Linked DNA regions of Homo sapiens: region 1 is linked to region 2. The links are contacts of gene promoters, found by promoter capture Hi-C in human tissues and cell types (Jung and others, 2019). All regions are on one chromosome and are shown on one strand. The core of a region is centred on a gene start or on the middle of the fragment in contact, and the rest is flanking DNA. Distances in the headings are between cores, read along the strand shown. Region 1 overlaps UGCG (UDP-glucose ceramide glucosyltransferase). Region 2 holds the start of KIAA1958.

Region 1 (7,269 bases), core at 2,665-5,164, 580 kb before region 2:
GCACCACTAGTTACCATAGCCTGACCCAGGTATACCCCTCATTATCCCTCATTCCCCCTCCAGCAATACCATCATCAGTTATTGGCTAAACTCCTTGATTCTGAGTTCTCACCTTCTCTTGACTTTGCTTCCTTCGCTTGTTTCTTTTGTGTGTGTGTTTTGTTTTGTTTTGTTTTGTTTTGAGACAGTCTCGCTGTGTCGCCCAAGCTGGAGTTCAGTGGTACGGACTCGGCTCACCACAACCTCTGCCTCCTGGGTTCAAGTGATTCTCCTGCCTCAGCCTCCCGACTAGCTGGGATTACAGGTGTGCGCCACCATGCCTGGCTAATTTTTGTATTTTTAGTAGAGACGGGGTTTCACCATGTTGGCCAGGCTGGTCTTGAACTCCCAACCTCAGGTGATCCACCTGCCTCAGCCTCCCAAATTGGCTGGGATTACAGGCATGAGCCACTGCACCCAGCCTTTCACTTGTTTCTTATGCCTTTCTGGTTTGTGTGCTTGTCTCTTTCTTTTGGACCTTTGCAATATTTTTCCCTTGCCTTCCATCTCCCCTGCCTGTACTTTATTCTCTTAACTTCTATAAATACAAAAATGATCCTGGTTGCTTCCTTTTAGTCTTTCATGGTTATTTCTTGCCTAGAGGATGAGCTCCAGGCCTTTTCAGCCTTGTCTGTGAAGTCACGAAGAATTTATAGCAGAGATGAGTCTTAAAGCAGTGCTGCTCAAGCTTGAGTGTGCCTGTGAATCACCTAGAGATCTTGTTAAACTGAAGATTGAGTTTCAGTAGTTTTGGGGGATGAGGCCTGAAATTTTGAAGCTCTGAAAAGCTCCCAGGTGTTGCCAATGCTGCTGGTCCATGGGCCACACTTGGAGTATGAAAGTCTGGAAAGACCGCCTCCTAGGAGTAGTTGGATGCTTCCATCTCTCTTCTCTCAAAGTGTTCCAAACATACTTTGATGATAGCCTGTATCACACTGCATTTGCAGAGTCCCGTACAGACTCTACTTCTGAATGAGAGGTGGCGTGTGCACATGTGAGAACCACCTCTCCTATTAACACATGGAAATGCTGTAACGATTAGACACTTACACACCCAGAGCCTGAAAATGTGAAAAGAAAATCTGCATATTCCAGAAACCAAGAGGGAATGCAAAGCAGTGGGTTGGTCTGGTCTGCTAATTTGAATCCCGGTGGGGTTTTAATTTATTGATATTTCTTCTCATTGGTATATTTTCCTGATTCTTTGCATGCTTGGAAATTTTTTAATAGATACCAGACATTTTGAATTTCACCGTGTTGGGTGCTGGATGTTTTTGTTTTTCTGGACTGTTGACTCCAGCTCTTCAATTCATTTTCTTTCTTTTTTTTTTTTTTGAGATGGAATCTTGCTCTGTTGCCCAGGCTGGAGTGCAGTGGTGCGATCTTGGCTCACTGCAACCTCCGCCTCCCGGATTCAAGTGATTCTCCTGCCTCAGCCTCCCGAGTAGCTGGGATTACAGGCACGTGAGGCCACACCTGGCTAATTATTTTTTGTATTTTTAGAAGAGATAGGGTTTCACCATGTTGGCCAGGCTGGTCTCGAACTCCTGACCTCAAATTATCCTCCCGCCTTGGCCTCCCAAAGTGCTGGGATTACAGGCGTGAGCCACCGCACCCAGCCTACCTTATTTTCTGTGTCATAGGAATCACTGTCTTCCTTTGCTTGATGTCCAGTATCTTCAAAACTGTTGTCTCCTGTATTTTTTTCTGATTTTTTGGTTGTTTCAGGTGGGAGAGAGTAAATCCAGTTAGCGTTTCTTCATCTTGTCCAAAAGTTGAAGGCTTGGGGGGTGGGTGGTGGGAAGAGTAGGGCTTTTAGTACTAGTGCGAGGACAGAGTCAGTGCTGCACACTAGTTATAATAACCTCAAACTGTAAACAACCCAAACATCCATCAACAGAAAGTAAATAAAGTGTGGTATATTAGTAAAACTATCCTGTAACAAGAGTGAATACATGATAGCTAAATGTAACAACGCGGATGATTCTCACAAACATAACGCAACCCAAAGAGGCCAGACAGGAAAGATACATCCTATGGGATTCCATTTATATAAAAATTTAAAGCCAGCAAAACTAGTCTGAAGTCAGGACAGTGAGTACCCTTGAGGGGAGCATAGTACGTGGAAGGAGACACGAGAGGACTTCTGGGGTTCTGCTAATACTGTTTTTTGATCTGGGTACTGGTTACATGAGAGTTTCACTTTGAGAAAATTCTTTGAGCTGTGTACTTACAGGTGACTTTATAATATGTACATTATGTATCAATAAAAAGTACCCCCCACACCACTTCCCCAACAAAAAGGTCAAGGCTGCAAGCCAGATGCATTATAGGAAGGTAAGAACTGGATTCCCAGTATAGAACCTAGAAAGCAAGTCGTCTGCCCTAGGCTGAGGGTAGAAATGGACACCCATGAGAAAGCTTGTGCAACGTGTAGGAATCATAGGCTCAAGTTCATACTGTCTAGGAAATGCAGAAACCCTGATCTGAGACACTAAAAGAAAAACTAGTTAGAAACCAGTAAAACTTGTAAGACCCTGTCCGAGCCACTTATAATACTGCCCCACTTTAAGGGCTCCACCGTGGAGGCCACTTTTGAAACACTAGGCAATTGATCACAGTGCCCTCCCTCCCTCTCTCCCTCTCTGTCACCCAGGCTGGAGTGCAGTGGTGCGATCTCGGCTCACTGCAACCTCTGCCTCCCAGGTTCAAGTCATTCTTGTGTCTCAGCTTCCCGAGTAGCTGGAATTATAGGCGTGTGCCACCACGCCCAGCTAATTTTTCTATTTTTAGTAGAGATGGGGGTTTTGCCATGTTGGCCAGGCTGGTCTTGAACTCCTGACCTCAAGTGATCCGCCTGCCTCATCTTCCCAAAGTGCTAGAATTATAAGCATGAGCCACTGCACCAGCCCACAAGGCTACTTCTGACCTTGGAAACTCTTCTTTATTTTGAAAAAAACCACTGGGATTTAAAAAATGTTTTTGAAAAAAAATCACTGGGATTTAAAAAAATTTTTTTGAAAAAAATCACTGGGATTTTAGAGCTTTTTATTCTGTCATCCACATCTCAAACTCTTTCATGATTTCTGTGTAGAAATCTGTAGATTGGTTTCCAACACACTGGTCATGGCCAAAGGCATTGTTTCCACCTGTGGAACGATTCTCCAGAGCAAAGCTTTGTTGACATCTTTAAGAGTTTTGTAAGGAGAAGAGCTTCTGGGCATGTGCAACCCAACTTCCCCATTAAGCCACAGCTCCTTCACAGTAGGGAATTCACCTGTTGCTTGTTGCATTCCAGTGCATATGATAATGACTAGTGTACATTCGGGGCTGTAAAGATGTTGTCCAGTAAGTGACTGCAAAGCAGTCATGGAGTACCACTGTGTGCTGAGCCTAGTGCTAGAGGTGTTTTGTTTATTTGGTGACTTAATGGATATTCTTCTATTGTTTTGACAAACATTTCAAGTAATTTGTACCACATGGCTTTGTTGGTTGCGTTATGTAAGTCAAAACAGTATTCTGCAAGGTAGGATCTCGTACCCTAGGGGGTACACAACAAACTGACCTGTTGGGTTTTGGAAAGAAAATATTAGAGAGAGACAGGGACAGAGGGGAGGCACAAATACATTTTTTAAAGGCCCTGTGATATAGTCTGGCTTATTTTGAGTAGAAATTTCAGATATAGTACTTAACAATTCTCTTTATCCATAAACCTAGAGAGGGCTTTGTGGCTGTTGAGAGAGTCAGAATGAATCTATGATAAAATACTGCATTCTCAACATGAAAAGTTCTTCAAAGGAGGAGGTGTATCTAATGATATTTAAAGTAAAACATCTTGGGAGAAGGGAGAAGTAGGATCTACTCTAAACTTTACCAAAATGTAATCGCCTCTAGACTATTCAGTACAGCTTAGATGATCTTCGTTGCTACTGTTTTTGATCTAAAGCCTTGCCACAGGCACTGAGATTATTAGTGGGCCAGTTCTCTCTGCTACTTAGCCAGCACTTGACCTGCATGTTTTGGTAGTTTAATAGCACTTAAGGATCACACAGTGGGACCAACAGATAAAAATCACTGGGATTTTAGACCTTCTTATTCTGTCATCCACATCTCAAACTTTTTCATGATTTCTGTGTCTTTACCTGTCCCTCTCTCTGGGCTGCATTCTGGATAGCTTCTTCTAATCTAGATGCCAATTCTTTCGTAAATTGTGAGTACGTAAGATTCTGTATTACTTGTCTTTTGAGTTTCTGATGTCAGTGATTGTAACTGTCATTCCTAGAACTTGTGTGGTTCTTTTCATATTATTTGTGGTCATATATAATGATTTCCCTCATTTCCTTCTCTTCTCTTGGGTTTTGTTCAGGTACACAGGGAGGTTGCATTCTTGGCCCAAACCCACGTGGTGAGGTGTTCTCCAAGAAGACTTTTTTCTTTTTTGTTTTTGTTTTTGTGTGAGATGGAGTCTCTCTCTGTTGCCCACGCTGAAGTGCAGTGGCGCGATCTCTGCTCATTGCAGCCTCTGCCTCCCAGGTTCAAGGGATTCTCATGCCTCAGCCTTCCAAGTAGCTGGGACCACAGGTGCACACCACCATGCCTGGCCATATTTTGTATTTTTTAGTAGAGACGGAGTTTCACCATGTTGACCAGGCTGGTCTCAAACTCCTGACCTCAAGTGATCCACCTGCCTCCACCTTTGAAAGTGCTGGGATTGCAGGCATGAGCCACTGTGCCTGGCCAAGACTTTTTTCTTTTATTCTATTTCACTGAGGACTGAATCCAAGATAGAGAGCATCCGCATCTTCCCTCTATGGACCAGGATTTTTCTGCTTGCCTTTCAGGGAGTCCAGATTTACCCAAGGCTCTCAGAACAGTTGTCCTGTCATTCTTATCTCAGGCTTCTCTCCATCTCCAGGTCACCAGTAGATGGTCAGGAGGCAAGCATGGACTCTAGCACTCAGTCACTGAAGAGGTTTTTTTCTCATTTCTGACCTTAGAGACTCTTCTTTATTGTCCTAACGGTTCAATTATGTATTTTAAAACATGCTTTTACTACACTTGTATTAAAAAGGAAGAGAGACAAGTTTATGAATATGTACATATATAATTCATATATACCATAAATGTGTGTATATATTTTGACTTGTATATGCATTTTTAAAACCTCTGGAAGGACAAGAAACTAGTAATGCTGGGGAAGCAGTAATGGAAACAGGCAGATGGGGGGCCAGTGGTGACAGATTTCTTTTATCAGACCCTCTTAATATTTTTAGTGATTTGAACCATATCAGTATATTACCAGTTCAGGGGCTGAACGTGGTGGCTCATGCCTGTAATCCCAGCACTTTGAGAAGCCAAGGCAGGAGGATTCTTTGAGCCTAGGAGTTCAAGACCAGCCTGGGCAATATAGTGAGACCCCATCTCCATAAAAAAATAAAAAAATTAGCCTGGTGTGGTGGAGTGTACCTGTTATCCTAGCTACTGGGGAGGCTAAGGTGGCAGGATCGCTTGAGCCTGGGAGATGCAGATAATTACACCACTGCATGCCAGCCTGAGCAACGGAGCAAGACCCTATCTCATATGTGTATATTCAACAGGATATATATATATATATATATATATATATATATATATATATATATATATATATTCAACAGGATATATATATATTCAACAGGATACATATATATATTCAACAGGATACATATATATATTCAACAGGATATATATATATATATATATATATCCTGTTGAATCAATTAATTGTGTAATATAAACTTTTTTCCCCAGCAGTCTAGATGTTCTTTACCTGGTGGGTTTCAGGCATCTAGTCTGCTATTTTGTTAGAAATAGAATAGTGATTACTTTTGTGGTTATATGCGTTTTAGATCGTGGTTTTACCTGTCTGGTCCTCCAGATGAACTCTGTAGAGCAATATTTTCCAAACTATCTATGGCAAAGCAGTTGTTCTTTAAAATTATCCAATCTGGCTGGCTGTAGTGGTTCACACCTGTAATCCCAGCACTTTGGGAAGCCGAGGCGGGCAGATCACTTAAGATGAAGAGTTCGAGACCAGCCTGGCCAACATGGTGAAACCCTGTGTCTACTAAAAATACAAAAAGTTAGCTGGGCATGGTGGTGCATGCCTGTAATCCCAGCTACTTGGGAGGCTGAGGCAGGGGAATCATTTGAACCCGGGAGGCGAAGGTTGCAGTAGCTGAGATCGCACCACTGCACTCCAGCCTGGGTCGCAGAGCAAAACTCTGTCTTAAAAAAATAAAAAAAAAAAAATTCCAATCTGCCATGAGCCAATACTTTGGTAAACTACAATAAAAATAAATTGCTGATCACATGCTTGATGTCATGGCAATGTTAAATTGCTATACAAGTTTCTAAAAGGTTTCACTCAATTGTTTCTCACTTGCAAACCAGTAAAAAGCAATGCTGGACCAGACCACACTTTGAGTAGCACTGCGATAGATGGTGCTCCAGTATTTTCTGGTACTTGGTGTATCAGAAATTGATACCACCCTGTTCTTTAAATTTCTTGTTGGTTTTAAAGTTTTTCCATTGTAAACCTGGTGTGTGTGTGTGTGTGCGTGTGTGCACGTGTGTGTAAAACTGTATGGCCTTATCTAAAACGTTAGATGTTTGCTACAGCACACACCTGCCTTAGTTAGAGACCAAGCCCATGGCTAAGTGGTCTGGGTGGTGGTACCGGTGTCCCTCCAGAAGTCTTTCCCAGTTTAATAGTGGATTTTATCAAATCAAGATGCATTGATGCAAGTATTTTTTGATCATCTAGAAGTTCTCATTGGTTGATTTTCACAGTAAGTCAGAGCTGCCATCTGCCTGGCAGCAATTGTAAGGTACCATTGATGTCAGAGATGTTAAAATGTGGAAGAACATGTGTCTTAGAATATCTTGCAGATGGACCCATGATGTTCTAGTGCCTAATTACTGTCGAATGCTTGGAGACTTGTTTATGAGAAGTACTTGTCACATATTTACTAGAAGTAGGAGGAAGGCTTCAGTGGCTTCCTTTAGAAACTTCACCACTGTATTGAATGGCATCTTGTTGCAACAGCCTGATGTTAACTGGGGCACGTTCTGTCTTCTCTAGCATTGCTTCTTTCTTTTTTTTGAGACGGAGTCTCACTCTGTCACCCAGGCTGGAGTGCAGCGGCACAATCTTGGCTCACTGCAACCTCCACCCCCGGGTTCAAGTGA
Region 2 (6,287 bases), core at 3,788-6,287:
TAATCCCAGCACTTTTGGAGGCCAAGGCAGGTGGATCACAAGGTCAAGAGATCGAGACCATCCTGGCCAACATGATGAAACCCCGTCTTTACTAAAAATACAAAAATCAGCTGGGCGTCATGCCGCATGCCTATAGTCTCAGCTACTTGGGAGGCTGAGGCAGGAGAATCGCTTGAACCCGGGAGGCGGAGGTTGCAGTGAGCTGAGATTGCACCACTGCACTCCAGCCTGGCGACAGAGTGAGACTCCACCTCAGAAAAACAAAAAAAGAAAGAAAAGAAAAATTAGCTGGGTATGACGGCACCCACCTGTAGTCCCTGCTACTCAGGAGGCTGATGTGGGAAGATCGCTTAAATGTGGAGGTCAAGGCTGCAGTGTGCTATGATCCACTTTACTCTAGCCTGGGTGACAGAGTGAGACTGTCTCAAAATAAATAAATAAAAATAATGAAAGAAAGGAGCTTGTATTCTGCAATTGTTGGGAGAAATGTTCTAACGTATCATTTTGTTTTAATGCCTCTTTTTGCTTCTGCTTGAAAGTCTTATCTTCCTCATCCGTCTCCTTGGCCTGCTTCTTGGGCTGTTTTAGGGGGTTCTTCTTGCTGCACATGGCACCTGTGCCCCTTCCTCAGACTCTGCCCTCTATTGGACTCCTTTTTCCTTTTTTTTTTTGAGACACAGTCTTGCTCTGTCACCCAAGCTGGAGTACAGTGGCACAAACACAGCTTACTGCGGCCTTGACCCTCCTGGGACCAACTGATTCTCCCACATCAGCCTTCCAAGTACCTGGGACTACAGATGTGTGCCACCCCACCCGGCTAATTTTTTGATTTTTTTTGTAGCGACAGGGTCTCACTTTGTTGCCCAGGCTGGTCCCAAACACCTGGGCTCAAGCAATCCTCCCACCTTGGCCTCCCAAAGTGCTGAGATGATGGGCGTGAGCCACCATGCCTGGCCTACGATTTGTATTTCATGCTTCCTTTTTGAAACAGTTTTATTGAGAAATAACTTACATACCATACAGTTCACCCATTAAAACGTACAATTCAGTAGCTGTTAGTATAATCAGAGTTTCATAAACATCATCCAATTTTACAATATTTTCATCACCCCAAAAAGAAACTTTACTCCTTAGTAGTTACCTCACATTTCCACCAAAACCTCTCAGCCCTAGGGAACTACTAGTCTACTTTCTTTCCCTATTGATTTGTATATTCTAGACACTTCATATAAATGGAATCATATAATATATGACCCTTTGTGACTGGCTCCTTTCCCATAGCTTTGTAAACTTTTCCAGGTTTATCCATGTTGAAGCATGTACCAGTGTCATAAATTTTTTAATATAGTTGCTGCTCTGGCATTCATTTTTAGGCCTGGCCTAAGTCTTTTGAAACCCAGTTGTATACCCAACCCCCTGCTGTCACCTTTGGCCTTGTTAAAACTTACCCTCCTGGCCAGGTGTGGTGGCTCACACCTGTAATTCCACACTTTGGGAGGCCAAGGTGGGAGGATCACTTGAGCTCAGGAGTTCAAGACCAGCCTGGCCAAATATGGTGAAACCTTGCCTCTACTAAAAATACAAAAATTAGATGGGAAGGATGGCGTGTGCCTGTAATCCCAGCTACTCGAGAGGCTGAGGCATGAGAATCGCTTGAATCTGGGAGGCAGAGGAGGCTGCAGTGAGCTGAGATCATGCCACTGCACTCCAGCCCGGGCAACACAGCAAGACTCTGTCTCAAGAAACAAAACAAAACAAACTTCCCCTCCCAGTGTCGTTGAGATATAGCCCACTTGTTCATCTTATAGACTCCCAAACGCAACACATCCCTCAGCTGACCATGAAAAAACCTAATGGTTGACTGAGGGCTGTAATCCCAACACTTTGGGAGGGTGCGGCAGGAGGACTGTTTGAGGCCAGGAGTTTGAGACCACCCTGGGTAACACAGTGAGACCCCTGTCTCTACAAAAAGAAAAAAAAATTAGCTGGGCGTAGTGGCCCACATCTCTAGTCCCAGCTACTCAAGAGGCTGAGGCATGAGGATCGACTGAGGCAGGGAGGTAGAGGATGCAGTGAGCTGAAATCACGCCACTGCACTCCAGCCTAGGCAACAGAGGGAGACCTTGTCTCAAAACAAAACAGAACAAAACAAAAACCTAATGGTTAACACCAGAGTCTTGGAAATAAGTTCCTCTCCTTTGTGCATGTGTTTTTTAAGGGCATAATGCCTATAGACCTAATAAAAGCATAATCTCACAGGTCTCCTTTCTTCTCTCTTTCTCCTCTACTCCTCCTGAGTAGCTGGAACTAGAGATGTGGGCCACCATGCCCAGCTAATTTTTTTTTCTTTTTGTAGAGACGAGGGTCTCACTATGCTACCCAAGGTGGTCTCAAACTCCTGGCCTCAAGCAATCCTCCTGCCGCACCCTCCCAAAGTGCCGGGATTATGGCCCTCAGCCAACCCACTAGGTTTACTGTGATTGCTTTCTCTAGGATCTTCGTTTTTCAAGTCCTAGCTGCCTTAATAGACCTGACTCCAAATTTTGTATCTCCAGGCCAGTAAGACTGCCGGTAAGCTCTAGGGTGCTTCTTTCTGACTTCTACACTCCTAGACACAAATCAACAATGCCCTGAGAAGGAAAAGCGGCTGAGAATGCAGGACTCACTTCAGAGTATTTCTCTTCTTCCTGGGGGGCTCGTGGACTCTCAAGCCTTGGATGACAGGGTTGCTCTCCAATTGTTTTAAACAGACTTATTTATTTTTTTAAACAGCTTTCATCGTTCTCAGTGGCAGAGTTAGTTTGTTCAACAAGGTACCTCATCATGGTTGGATGCCTGCATCATTAAAAAAATTCATTGTAGTGAAATATCCTTTAAACAAATAAAATTAGATTTGTTTTGAAGTTGATTGTGGCAAAAACAATTTAAAATTTACCTTTGTAACTACTTTTAAGTGTACAGTTCGGTGGTGTTATATTTACATTATTGTGTAACATCTCTAGAAATTTTTCATCTTGCAAAATTGAAACTCTGTACCCAGTAAACATTATATCACCATTTTCCCCTCCCTCTACCCTCTAGCAACCACTATTCTACCGTCTTGTTTCCACAAGTTTGACATAATCCCACAGTTTACATACCTCTACATAGTTCATATAGGTCAAATCATAACAGTATTTGTCCTTTTGTGACTGGTTTATTGCACTTGGCACAACATCCTCAAGGTTCATCTATGTTGTAGCCTGTGATAAGATTTCCTTCCTTTTTAAGGCTGAATAATATTCCATTATATGTATATATCACATTTTCATTCATCTCTTCATCTGTTGATGAACATTTGGGCTGCTTCAACCTCTTGGCTATTGTGAATAGTGCTGCAATGAACATGAATGTGCAAATATCTCTTCGATATCCTGCTTTCAATTCTTTTGGATATTTACCCAGAAGTGGGATTGCTGGATCATATGGTAGCTCTAGTTTTAGTTTTTTGAGGAACTTCCCCACTGTTTTGCATAGTGGTGGTACCATCTACATTCCTATCAGCATTGCATAAGAGTTCCAATTTCTCCACAAGATCCCATCTTTAGAATATGCAGCAATTAACTAGGGGGTTTTCATTTTTGGTCTTTTTTGTTTGTACAAACATTATTGTGTCAACATTTACACAGATTTTAAATTTCAGCCTAGACCTGGAAGAGTGTTGATAGAGGAAGGTGTTAAGAACATCAACCGGAATCAGCTCTAGAGATGGAGAGGGGTTGGCAGAAGCTACCTAAAAGAGAACATGCTTGATGTGGTAATGAAGTTACCTGCTTGGATTCTGGACGACCCTGGATATTTTCTCCTTTGCTAAGAAGTTAGCTTCTTTCTCTCCCTCAAAAATATTCTTCTCTTCCCTTACCTACTCCAAGGGTACAAGTGACTGGGGTATGCCTGTCACAGATGAGGTGAGGCCAAGATGTGGGCACTACGTAAGGCCTGACAGATATGGTGTAAATGTTATTTATTACCATGATTACTGTTTTGGAGATGGTCAGTGCTGTAAATAGAAAGGGAGTTAAGAGCAGACTCTGAAGCCAGACTGTCCGGAATGAATCCAGGCTCCTCTAGCTACTATCTATGTGATGTTGAAAAAATTTCTTAATTTCTCTGTGCCTCAGTTTCCTTATCATAAAATGGCAATGTTAATAGCACCCACTATGTAGAGTTCTTAGGATTAAATAAATTAATATTCGCTAAGTACTCAGTGCAAACTGTGGGCACACAGCAAGTACTACGAAAGTGTTAGGTAAAATAAAGGTGGACCAAGCCTGGTAGCACCTAGCAAGTCCAGCTTCATCTTTGCTGTGCTGAGTCGTGTAGGTGGTGTTCTTGTGTCTCTGGTTTGCTGGAGGACCTAGTTTTAGTGTATTTTAGGTATCATTAAGCATCCCCGCTCCCTCGATGGGATAGGGGTGTGTGTGTTACAGGTGGTTGTTGGGCACCTTCACGGGGCAGCGGTGACTATGGGCTGTACGTAGTATCTCGGTAGAAAGTGTTAATGCACATCCCTGGGCGGAGAGGTAACTCTACTCAATGCGTTATAAGGGAAATCACACACCTCACGGATGGTGTAGGTTCTGTCTGCTCCTTGCGTTTCAGTGGAGGTGCACAGAGCTCCGGGGGGCATCGGGGACCGCGGGCCCAGGACGTGTAGTAGGGAGCAGTGCTGTACACTTCCTCGGACCATAGCGGGGACGGCGGGTTCCACACCTGTCGGGGCAGTAGGGACTGAGCTCGTGCGCGCGGAGGATGGATTGCTCCAACCTCTCGGTCCAGCGCGCCGGCCGCCGCGTGCGAACGTGTGTGCGGCAGGAGGCTCGATCTACACCTCCTCGGGGCAGCAACGACTGCGAGCTCGGTGCGTGCCGTAGGAGGTGTCGTTACACACTTCCTGTGGGTCTCGCCGACCACGGCGCGTTTCCGGTGCCGGCTGGAGCCCGGGGTCCGAGCCCCCGCCCCGCTCGCCGGCCCCGCCCCGGCCCGCCCGCGCCCCGCCCCCTGCCCGCCCGCCGCGCTCCGAGCCGGGCGCGCGGAGCTCGGGGCGCACGGAGCGGCGCGCGGCGGTCGGCCGAGCCAGGCTGGCGCCCCCGCCCCCCGCCCCGCTCCTCGGTCCGCCGCCCGCCGGGCGCCTTCCCCGCTCCACTTACCTTTGGTGCCCGGCCCTCTGGCCGCTCTCCTCCCGCCCTCGCGCCCCTTCGGCCCGTCCCGTCCAGCCCGGGCTGCCCGGCTCTCGCAGGCCCCCCCGCGCCGACCGCGTTCCTATGGACAGACGCACAGACACCTGCAGGTGGGTGAGAGCCCGCGCGCGGGGCGGGGACGAGTGCGCCGACGCCGCGACCCAGGCGGGGAGCCCCTTTGTGTGGGGGGCGGCCGCGCCGGGGTCGACTCTGCTTCCCCGTCAGCGGCCGCGCGGTGACCCGGCTGAACCTTCCTTTTGTCTCCTCTCGGGGGAGCGAGGCCGGAGCGAGGGCAGGGACCCGGGCGGCCGCTCGTCGGCAGCGCCGGGCTTGGGGGTGCGAGGCGCAGAGACCCCCGGTGGCGGCTCCGGTCCGCCTGCCCCGGGCCGCCCCGCCGCCCGGCAGCTCGGGTCTCAGCGGCGGCTGCAGGCGCAGTGCGTGGGGCTGGCGCCCCCGCTCCTGCTCTTGGGTCTGTCGGAGGTGGGAAGGAGGGCGGGAAGGAGGAGGAAAAGGTCTGTCCTCTTAGTTTCCAAGTCTTGAGATGCTTATGGAGAAAGAGAGGTGGTTCAGGGCTCTGCCCCACTAGTTTTCCTCCTCGGGTGGCTCGCCGAGGTGCGTTTGGGGCGTGTGTGAAGGAACGTGCATGGCTTCGCTCCCTTATTTATTGTTTCTAACGGAGGAGGGCTTTCTCCAAAAGGCTCTTCCGCCCCCCCACCCCCATCTGAGGCTGCGCACAGTGATTTGTGTTTGTTATCAAATATATCGAGAAATGTATTCCCCTGGGTAGGAGGAGGTTGGACTGAACAACGTCAAACCAAAATCAAAGAATGTTTTTGGTTCCTTCAAGTCTTTTTTTTTCTTTAAGGTTTTAGATTGGGACTTTAAAAAAAATGAACGTGGCTGTGATTTTTACAATTATATGTATTTAGTGTGTGTGCGTGTGTGTGTGTGTGTGTGTGTGTGTGTTTTGAAGTTTAGGAGTAAAGTTTTGTTTTTTCCCGAACTCGTTAGGATTCGCAAGACGGAATCCTCTCCCGACGAAATAAACAGCTAACAAGCCAGTCAGGT

Evidence for each region. The method cuts DNA at HindIII sites, captures the fragments that hold promoters and counts their contacts. A contact is called where the count stands out against the background at its distance.
Region 1: a fragment that was not itself captured here is called in contact with the fragment with the promoter of KIAA1958 in region 2 in 1 of the 25 tissues and cell types used here (aorta).

The regions. Positions count from the first base shown.
Region 1 is chr9:111,906,269-111,913,537 of GRCh38, forward strand. The region is part of intron 1 of UGCG (UDP-glucose ceramide glucosyltransferase); the gene reads left to right. Among named protein-coding and RNA genes, the nearest start is that of UGCG, 13 kb to the left of the region's middle. RefSeq lists an enhancer at 3,195-3,254. The HindIII fragment of the contact is 4,643 bases long and covers 1,594-6,236 here.
Region 2 is chr9:112,481,790-112,488,076 of GRCh38, forward strand. KIAA1958 reads left to right here and starts at 5,038. Exons shown (of 4, transcript NM_133465.4): 1 at 5,038-5,329. HSDL2-AS1 (HSDL2 antisense RNA 1) reads right to left here and starts at 5,855. Exons shown (of 5, transcript NR_171779.1): 1 at 5,190-5,855; 2 at 4,601-4,752. RefSeq lists an enhancer at 4,517-4,576 and silencers at 5,007-5,066, 5,147-5,636. The HindIII fragment of the contact is 14,239 bases long and covers 1-6,287 here.